2 separate regions of the Homo sapiens genome follow, and region 1 is linked to region 2. Evidence: promoter capture Hi-C in human tissues and cell types (Jung and others, 2019). All regions are on one chromosome and are shown on one strand. The core of a region is centred on a gene start or on the middle of the fragment in contact, and the rest is flanking DNA. Distances in the headings are between cores, read along the strand shown. Region 1 has its middle 36 kb from the start of FLJ20712. Region 2 holds the start of NT5C3A (5'-nucleotidase, cytosolic IIIA).

Region 1 (3,821 bases), core at 434-2,933, 700 kb after region 2:
CTGGAATGTAGCTAGGTGTCTGCCAGCTGCCATCCAGGCATAATCCAGGTGGGAGCCCCATCTTGGTACAGAACGTAGGAACCCATCTACAGTTCTGTGGCTTTCCTTCCCCAGAGCTGTGTCTGGCCTGAATGTAAAGATGTTTGGAGAAGATGACAAATCCAGTCCATGACCCTGGCTTTAGTCCAGTTCCTCTGACCCCCCTAAATCAGGTCTCAGAGCAACTTGGAGCTTAATGCAGAGGAAGATAATTCTTCTGACTGTGGAAAATATTAGCTAAATAGATGACAAAGATCGGTTGTAAAATCTCTCTAAGAAATGAATTAGATCAGTCTGTCTGCCTAAGGTGGTATGGATGTAATTACCCCTAAAAGCGTGTTTCTTTACATGTAAAACGGGGATTATAGTGGTACCTATATAATGTTCACAATGGTGGTTGTGCAGATGAAGTGAGTAGTGCAGGTAGTGCACTGTGCTACGTTGTTGTAAGTGGTCAGTAACTGATAATATAAAGGGGGACTCCCTTTCTATCCTAGAGGTGACACATTCTCGCCAACTGTTACTGAGTTCAAGAAGAGTCTCTTTCTCTTGTTCTCTCTCTCTCTGTACACACACACACACACACACACCCTGGGGGGTATTAAACAAAGTGTTCCTTTAAAGCTGTATTGTGGTTAATCTCTTATGGCTTGATGAAAGAGCCTCTCTGTATGGACAACCCCTAAGTTCATAATGGCCGTAAAGGACTGAAGGATGGAGAGTGAAATGTGGAACCAGTTTCTCATTGTACTGAAATGTATCATTTTTGGGATTCTTGTTAAGAGACAGTGTCTTCAGTTTCATCATGCACAATTTGTTGTGAGCCCAGCCAAATATGGCCACGTAGTACATCAAGGTGATAATTTTCTAGCACTATGCTAAGTGTTACACACACGTGATATCATGTAACTTTTCACTGAGACCCTAAGAAGTAGCTACTATTTGTCTACCCATTTTACCAATAGGAAAATTGAGACTCAGAAAGCTTAAATTATTTGGCCAAGCTCACAAAAGCAACATGTACAGAGCTAGGATTTGAATTCAGATCTGTGAGAACCCCAAGCTCTTACCACTCCCTTTTCTTCCCTGCCTCCCATCTGCCTCACTCATGTGAATGGCATAAAGATACTCCAATATTGACTTGGCTTGGAGCTTCAGAATGGGGGCCTGCGGAAATGTCTGGAGACATTTTCAGTTGCCACAGGTTGAGAACCCCGCCCTGATAGTATACAGGGGAAGCTCTGTGGTGTAGTGTAGTAAACAACAGGCTTATAAATGTTAGATCATCGAAAGAGTGTGTATCTCATCCCCCAACTCTGCAGGGGAGGTCTGATTACCACCTTTAACACATAGGAAACTGAAGCTCAGAAAAGATAAGTCACTTCCTCAAGATCACATGGTTAGCAATCATTGGAGCTGGAAATGATACTAAGGACTCCTGATCCCAAAGTAGAGATTTTCTCCTTTATCACAATGATCCCTGGGCCATTGTTTTTCTCATCAAATTTAGACTTTTAGTTTACCTAAACATTATTTAGCTTGCTTGGTGGTTCTCAAGTGATAACATGCATCGGATTTGCAGGAGGGCTTGTGGAAGCAGATTGCTAGGCTTCACCATAGAATATCTGATGGGGCCCTGGTGGGGCCTGTGAATTTGCTTTTCTATCAAGCTCCTGGGGGATGCTGATGCTGCTGGACCAGGGCCACACTGAGAACCACTGAATTAGGTCTCAAATGTGTTTTCTTTCTTCTTCTCTTCTGAGTCTTCTTCTGCCTCCTTTTTGCCTCTCCTCCCCCAACTGTCTGGGGACACGAAGAGTGCTGAATTTGCAGCCTGGCTTCTATGGACAGGCTAAGGCTGACAGGCTGGTGAAATATTAGTGCAACATGTGAAACTTACAGCCTTCCGAAGGCTCACTGCAGAGCGCAACCGATTACATGCGTCACTGGTCCAAGTGTTCCTTACAGTCTCCTGGGAGTGAATTAAAATCCTTTGCTGGTGACATAGAGGGGTGGACTGGTTCTGGGTCTGGTCTAATCTGGGTCAGAGAGCATGGGCTGATCTGTCATCTGAAACACTGAAACTTCTCCCAGGCGTCTCCTGGGGGATGATGGCTGCCCGCTGTGCTGGAGGCAAATGGGAGGAGGTACAGATGGAGGCCTGTCCCTTGTCCCTTTGTCTGGCAGCTGCTCTCCTCACAGGGTGGTTGCTGCAGGCAGCAGTAGGTGGTCTGCATAAGGGGCTGGGAAACCAGGCTTCCCACAGCCTTGGGGGTTCCCTCCAATTTGTTACCTCTGAATGCTTGGAACATCTGATGTGCCAGAGGTCCAGGAATTTGTGATGAATGTACAATGAAGACATATGCTGTACTCAAACTAGCAAAAGAGGCCAAGGAGGGGAATCTGGAAACTAGTATTTATTGAGACTGATCATGTGCCAGGCATTGTGTTCGATACTTTACATTCATCTCATTTAATCCTCATAACAGTCTTGCAAGTTAGATGTTCTTACTCATGTGAAGAAAATGGGGTTTCAAGAAGCTAAATAACTTGCCTAAGCCCATCAACCTTGAAAATGGAGAAGCCAGGATTTCAGCCCAAGGTAATCTGACCCTAGCAGCTGTTATCTTTCCATTTAATGAGAGAGAGAGAGAGAGAGAGAGAACTTGAAGGCTTGAGGTTCAGAGGAGGTGAGGATGCCTTATGACTTGTGATTTACTGGGCAATTACTAGGCCAGTTTTCACTTTAGCCAACCTTCGTCAAGTAATTTTGAAAGAGCATGTCTTCCTTCTTTTGCTTGGTTCAGAGAAATTTAATAGGCCAGTTTTGACTTTAGCCAACCTTCGTCCAGTAATTTTGAAAGAGCATGTCTTCCTTCTTTTGCTTGGTGCAGAGAAATTTAGAACAAGGGGAAATAATGCATTAATACATGCTGTAAGAAGTTTGCTTCCATCGTTAGGCAAGTGACTTGTGGAGTGAATATTCCCCTTAGAGCTGTAGGGGGCACAGTAAATCCCAAAACAATTGAAGGAATTATAGAAGCAGGATAGTACAGGACATTAGGACGTTGTGCCTGATCAGGGGAACGAAGCAATTTGTTCTCCTCTCAACCAAAGTTTATCATTTCTTCTTAGTAGATGAAAATGGAATGTCACTGCTTTTTTTCTTTTTATAAGTAAGAAAAACAAATCAACATGCTCCCTATTGTTTCCCTGACTTGTGAAAATAAAATCCAAACATATATTTGTGATTTCATACAGCCCGGAAGACCATGAAAGAAACATGAGCCCGAGGAATTTGTCAACCCACTCTCTCTCTGTGGTCTGCAATGCCTGGGTTTTAATTACTAGTAGGAAGGGCGCTTGAATTGGCAAGACTCTTTTAGTATTCATTCATCTTGAGCAAATTGTGACATCCATGGGGTGGGGAGAACCAAGCATTTAAACTACTTTTTGGCATAATTGGCCTTGACCTTCATAATTTCATAATATGCTTAGTGGTATATGCAACAGGCCTGACTTCCAGAGCTTGTCATTTGAAATCAGATGCAATCCACAACATCAGTAATGATACCTTTCTTTATTCAATGCCTGTAAGGCATTTTCAGTGGCATTGTCTCATAGAATCCTTAGAACAACTCTATTAAGGAGATATTTTCATCTTCAGTTTATAGACTAAGGACACCAAACCTTGAAAAGATCACACAGTTTGTCAGGAGCAAAGTCTCAACTCAGACCCAAGCTGCTAAGTCCTATTTGAGTGCTTGTTTACTACATTCTTA
Region 2 (3,856 bases), core at 193-2,692:
AGAATAAATTAATTCAAAATTAGGGAATATTATTGGAATATGAGACAAGTGGGAATTAACTTTTTTTTTTAAGAGACAGGGTCTCGCTATGTTTCCCAGGCTGGAGTGCAGTAGCTATCCACAGGTGTGATTATAACCTTGAACTCCCAGACTCCAGTGATCTTCCTCTCAGCCTCCCAAATAGCTGGGACACTGGCTAATTTTAATTATGCAAATACATCTGTATTCAACCTGGGGTCAGTACAACCAATAGGACAAATCGTGTCTTTCGTCAGTTGGAACATATTGCAGGTGCTCAGAAATTCCAAGTATTACACCCTAAAATGATATTATTTAGTGTAGATTTTAAATTTTTTTCTATCATAAATCATCTGACCCTAGATGTTCACATGTATAGCACACGGTCAGGCGTATACCCAGGATTATGCATTTCAGGAAATACATAAGCGTGCAAGTTTGTGCAAGAATTGTCTTCCTGAGTGGGTTCTAATTAAAATACAAAACGAAACTAAATATCCTCATTTTTGAAACAATTACTTATAATGTATCTCAAAGGGAATTCTTGAGACACCCTCTTCAATAAAAAATTAAATTCGAAAATGTATACAAGAGCTTTGGGAGTTAAGATGAAAACAAAGATATTTCGTGGGAGTTTTGAGACAAGAAGGAATACATTCAAATACAAAATAAACTATCCTGAATTTCTCCTGGATTGCCATTCTTGTAAAATTTTAGATATTGCACATTTTCATAATCTAACTCACGGCAGCCCCAACATAAAACTAGTCCTCTGCGGGAATTGCAACTAGATTAGCGGCAACGGTTTGACGCGGATCCGGGGGGAGGGCGGGAGCAAGGCAGGGAGAGAAGGAGCCACCTGCCCAGGACATGCAGCTTATCTCTAGAGAAACGGGTTTTGCAGCACAAAGTAGCCTGTGTCCGATTCATCTATTTTCTGCCTTGTTCCTTCAAACGGAAACCTAACAAAGACCACGGGCAGCCAAGGGCCGCAGCCGGGGACCCAACCCTGGTCACCAAGCCCGCGGAGTGGCCGCACGCGGGGCGGCCGGGTCCCCCAAGCTGCGCGTCCCGAGCTAGCGAGATCCCAGCCTGACAGGCGACGCCGGCAGCTCCCCGTCGCGACCGAACAGCGGCCCAGCACAGGCTGCCGAGGCCAGCGGACGGCCCAGCCGGCCCCTCGCGTGCTCTGGGCGCGCCGAGCCTCCACACTCACCATCTCGATGATCTTGGTCTTCCGCCCCGTCTTCCTCTTCAAGGTGAATATGTACTGAGCCAGCACCACCCCCGCCACCAGGGCGCACACGCTGGCGCTCGCTACCGCGCCCACCCTCGCCACGGCCGCGCGGTCCATGGACGGGGCCCTCATGCGCGTCCAAGCAGGAAAAAAACAGGCAGCTCGCGTAGACTGCGAGTCTCGGAAGCGCGGGATCCCAGAGCATCACGGACGAGCCCGCGACGCCCCGCCCCGCGCAGCGACGCCCCGCCCCGCGCAGCTCCGCCCCCACGAAGCCCCACCCACACGCCATCGATGGGAGAGGCCAGGACGCGGCGGGAGGGGTGTGGCCTGTGCCCGGAGCCCAGGCTGGAGGCGGCCTTCAGCAGACTCAGGGTCTCACGAGCTGCTGTCAGGGCAGGGCAGAGTATTGCGGTAATTATCCTTCTCTGCTAATGAGGATTAGGCCGTGGTTCGCTCGAGCCCCGCCCCAGTAGAAATCTAATTCCAACTGCGGCCCGCTAAGAAGTCGGTCTCCGCCTTCGCGCCTCAGCCCCTCTGGACTCCGACCCCCAGAAGGCTGCGCGGCACGGTGTGACCTGCGCAGTGGCGTCCGTTCTAAGTGCTATAACAACAGGGGGAAGATGGCTCAGAGTTAGGCTGGAGAGGGGCGGTGTCCCTTCCGCCGCAGCCGCGGGGTTTCTGCTACATCCCATTCGCCACCTCCGCCATCCTTTTTTCTGTGTGAGCAGAAGGGCTTGCAGTTGTTCTCTCCTGCCTAGTGTCTTCCAAGGGATAGATGCCATTTCTTCTGCTGGTCTCTGGGGGTGAGGAGGGGCGCAGGGGAGCTTCTTGGGGGAATCGCTCCAACTCTGTGGAGCTGGTGGTGCTGCCTGGTGGGGCTCTCTCTGCCCAGGACGTGGAACAACTTTCAGCCGGAGGACTAGAGGAAATAGTTGTAGGGGAGGAAAAATTGTTTCCTTCTAGCCTTTTAGGTCATTTGGCTGGTCTACAAATTAAATTGATGTAAGACAGAGGAACATGAGAAAAACGATTTGTCGACCGAAAGGTGAAATAACAGGTACTAAAACTTAAAGAAATCATGGTTAGTTTTATTACTCGGCCAAGTTTGAGGACTTAAGCCTGGGAACACAGACTCAGTATAGACCGAGAACGTGTCCCAAAGTAAGTTAGCTGGGAGTATAACCTGAAGAAGACTGAGTTTTAATACCCAGAATATTTGAGTATCAATATCTAGACTACTGTGTCATTTTGTCGCCAAAGTAATTTTTTATGAATCCAGTTTTGCACCAAATACCAATATGACTTAAATGTTGTCTGATTGTGAGGCCTAAGATGGTCACAGTCTCATTTATCTTTCTTCCTCAACAAAAACATTTTCCATATATTACATATTATTTTGAATGGGTAGAGACTAAAGCCACGTTTCTATAATTTCAGGATTTTAAACATTTTGTAGACGATAACATTCGTCTTGAAGCTGTGGACAATCTAAAACAGAAATGGAGTTCCAAATTTTGTTTTTGTAATATGGCCCGTCAACTGCACATGGGAAGAATGTGGGTACTCTGAAATATGATTTCTATTTTAACTAGTTATACTATATCATAGGTCTGATTATCATCTATATGAGATGTTAAAGCTGTAGGAGTATAGTCAATTAGACTACAAACCCTGGTAGTAAATTTCCAGGAGGAAAGGGGTCCATATGTTTTTTATAAGTGTAAACCTTGTGTTTCTGAATCTAAGAGGGTTGGCCATGTTTGGAGACTATTTCAGCTTCTATGTGAATTAACATATTAATTATTCTTGTTGAAAGACATGGAAGATCTTGATATGGTTTGACCCTGTATCCTCACCCACATCTTATTTTGAATTATACTCCCATAATTCCCATGTGTTGTGGGAGGGACCTGGTGGGAGATAATTGAATCATTGGGGTGTTTTCTTCCATACTGTTTTCGTGGTAGTGACTTAAGTATCAGGAGATCTGATGGTTTTATCAGGGTTTTCGCTTTTGCGTCTTCCTCATTCTCTCTTTGTCTGCTCCCATCCATGTAAGATGGGACTTGCTCCCTGCCTTCCACTATGATTGTGAGGCTTCCCCAGCCACGTGGAACTGGAAGTCCAATTAAACCTCTTTCTTTTGTAAATTGCGCAGTCTGGGGTATGTCTTTATCAGCAGCCTGAAAACAGACTAGTACAGATCTCTACACGGAGAACTACAAAATACTGATGAAAGAAATCAGGCCAGGTGAGGTGGCTGGTGCCTGTAATCTCAGCACTTTGGAAGCCCAAGGTTGGGGGATTGCTTGAGGCCACAAGTTTGAGACCAGTCTCGGCAACATAGCGAGACCCTGTCTCTACAATCCCTGAAAAACCAAAGAAATTAGCTGGGCATGGTGCTGCGTTTCACTCTCGTCCGTGTGAAGAGACCACCAAACAGGCTTTGTGTGAGCAACAAGGCTGTTTATTTCACCTGGGTGCAGGCGGGATGAGTCCAAAAGAGAGTCAGTGAAGGGAGATAGGGGTGGGGCCGTTTTGTAATATTTGGGTAGGTAAAGGAAAATGTGTTAACAGTCAAAGGGGGGTTGTTCTCTG

Evidence for each region. The method cuts DNA at HindIII sites, captures the fragments that hold promoters and counts their contacts. A contact is called where the count stands out against the background at its distance.
Region 1: a fragment that was not itself captured here is called in contact with the fragment with the promoter of NT5C3A in region 2 in 2 of the 25 tissues and cell types used here (heart left ventricle and lymphoblastoid cells).

The regions. Positions count from the first base shown.
Region 1 is chr7:33,759,681-33,763,501 of GRCh38, forward strand. No RefSeq gene overlaps it. Among named protein-coding and RNA genes, the nearest start is that of FLJ20712, 36 kb to the left of the region's middle. The HindIII fragment of the contact is 5,997 bases long and covers 1-3,821 here.
Region 2 is chr7:33,061,334-33,065,189 of GRCh38, forward strand. NT5C3A (5'-nucleotidase, cytosolic IIIA) reads right to left here and starts at 1,443. Exons shown (of 9, transcript NM_001002010.5): 1 at 1,235-1,443. The coding sequence starts at 1,372. LOC124901610 (a long non-coding RNA gene) reads left to right here and starts at 1,852. Exons shown (of 4, transcript XR_007060279.1): 1 at 1,852-2,315; 2 at 2,696-2,814. RefSeq lists silencers at 1,078-1,137, 1,438-1,557 and an enhancer at 1,798-1,957. The HindIII fragment of the contact is 10,077 bases long and covers 1-3,856 here.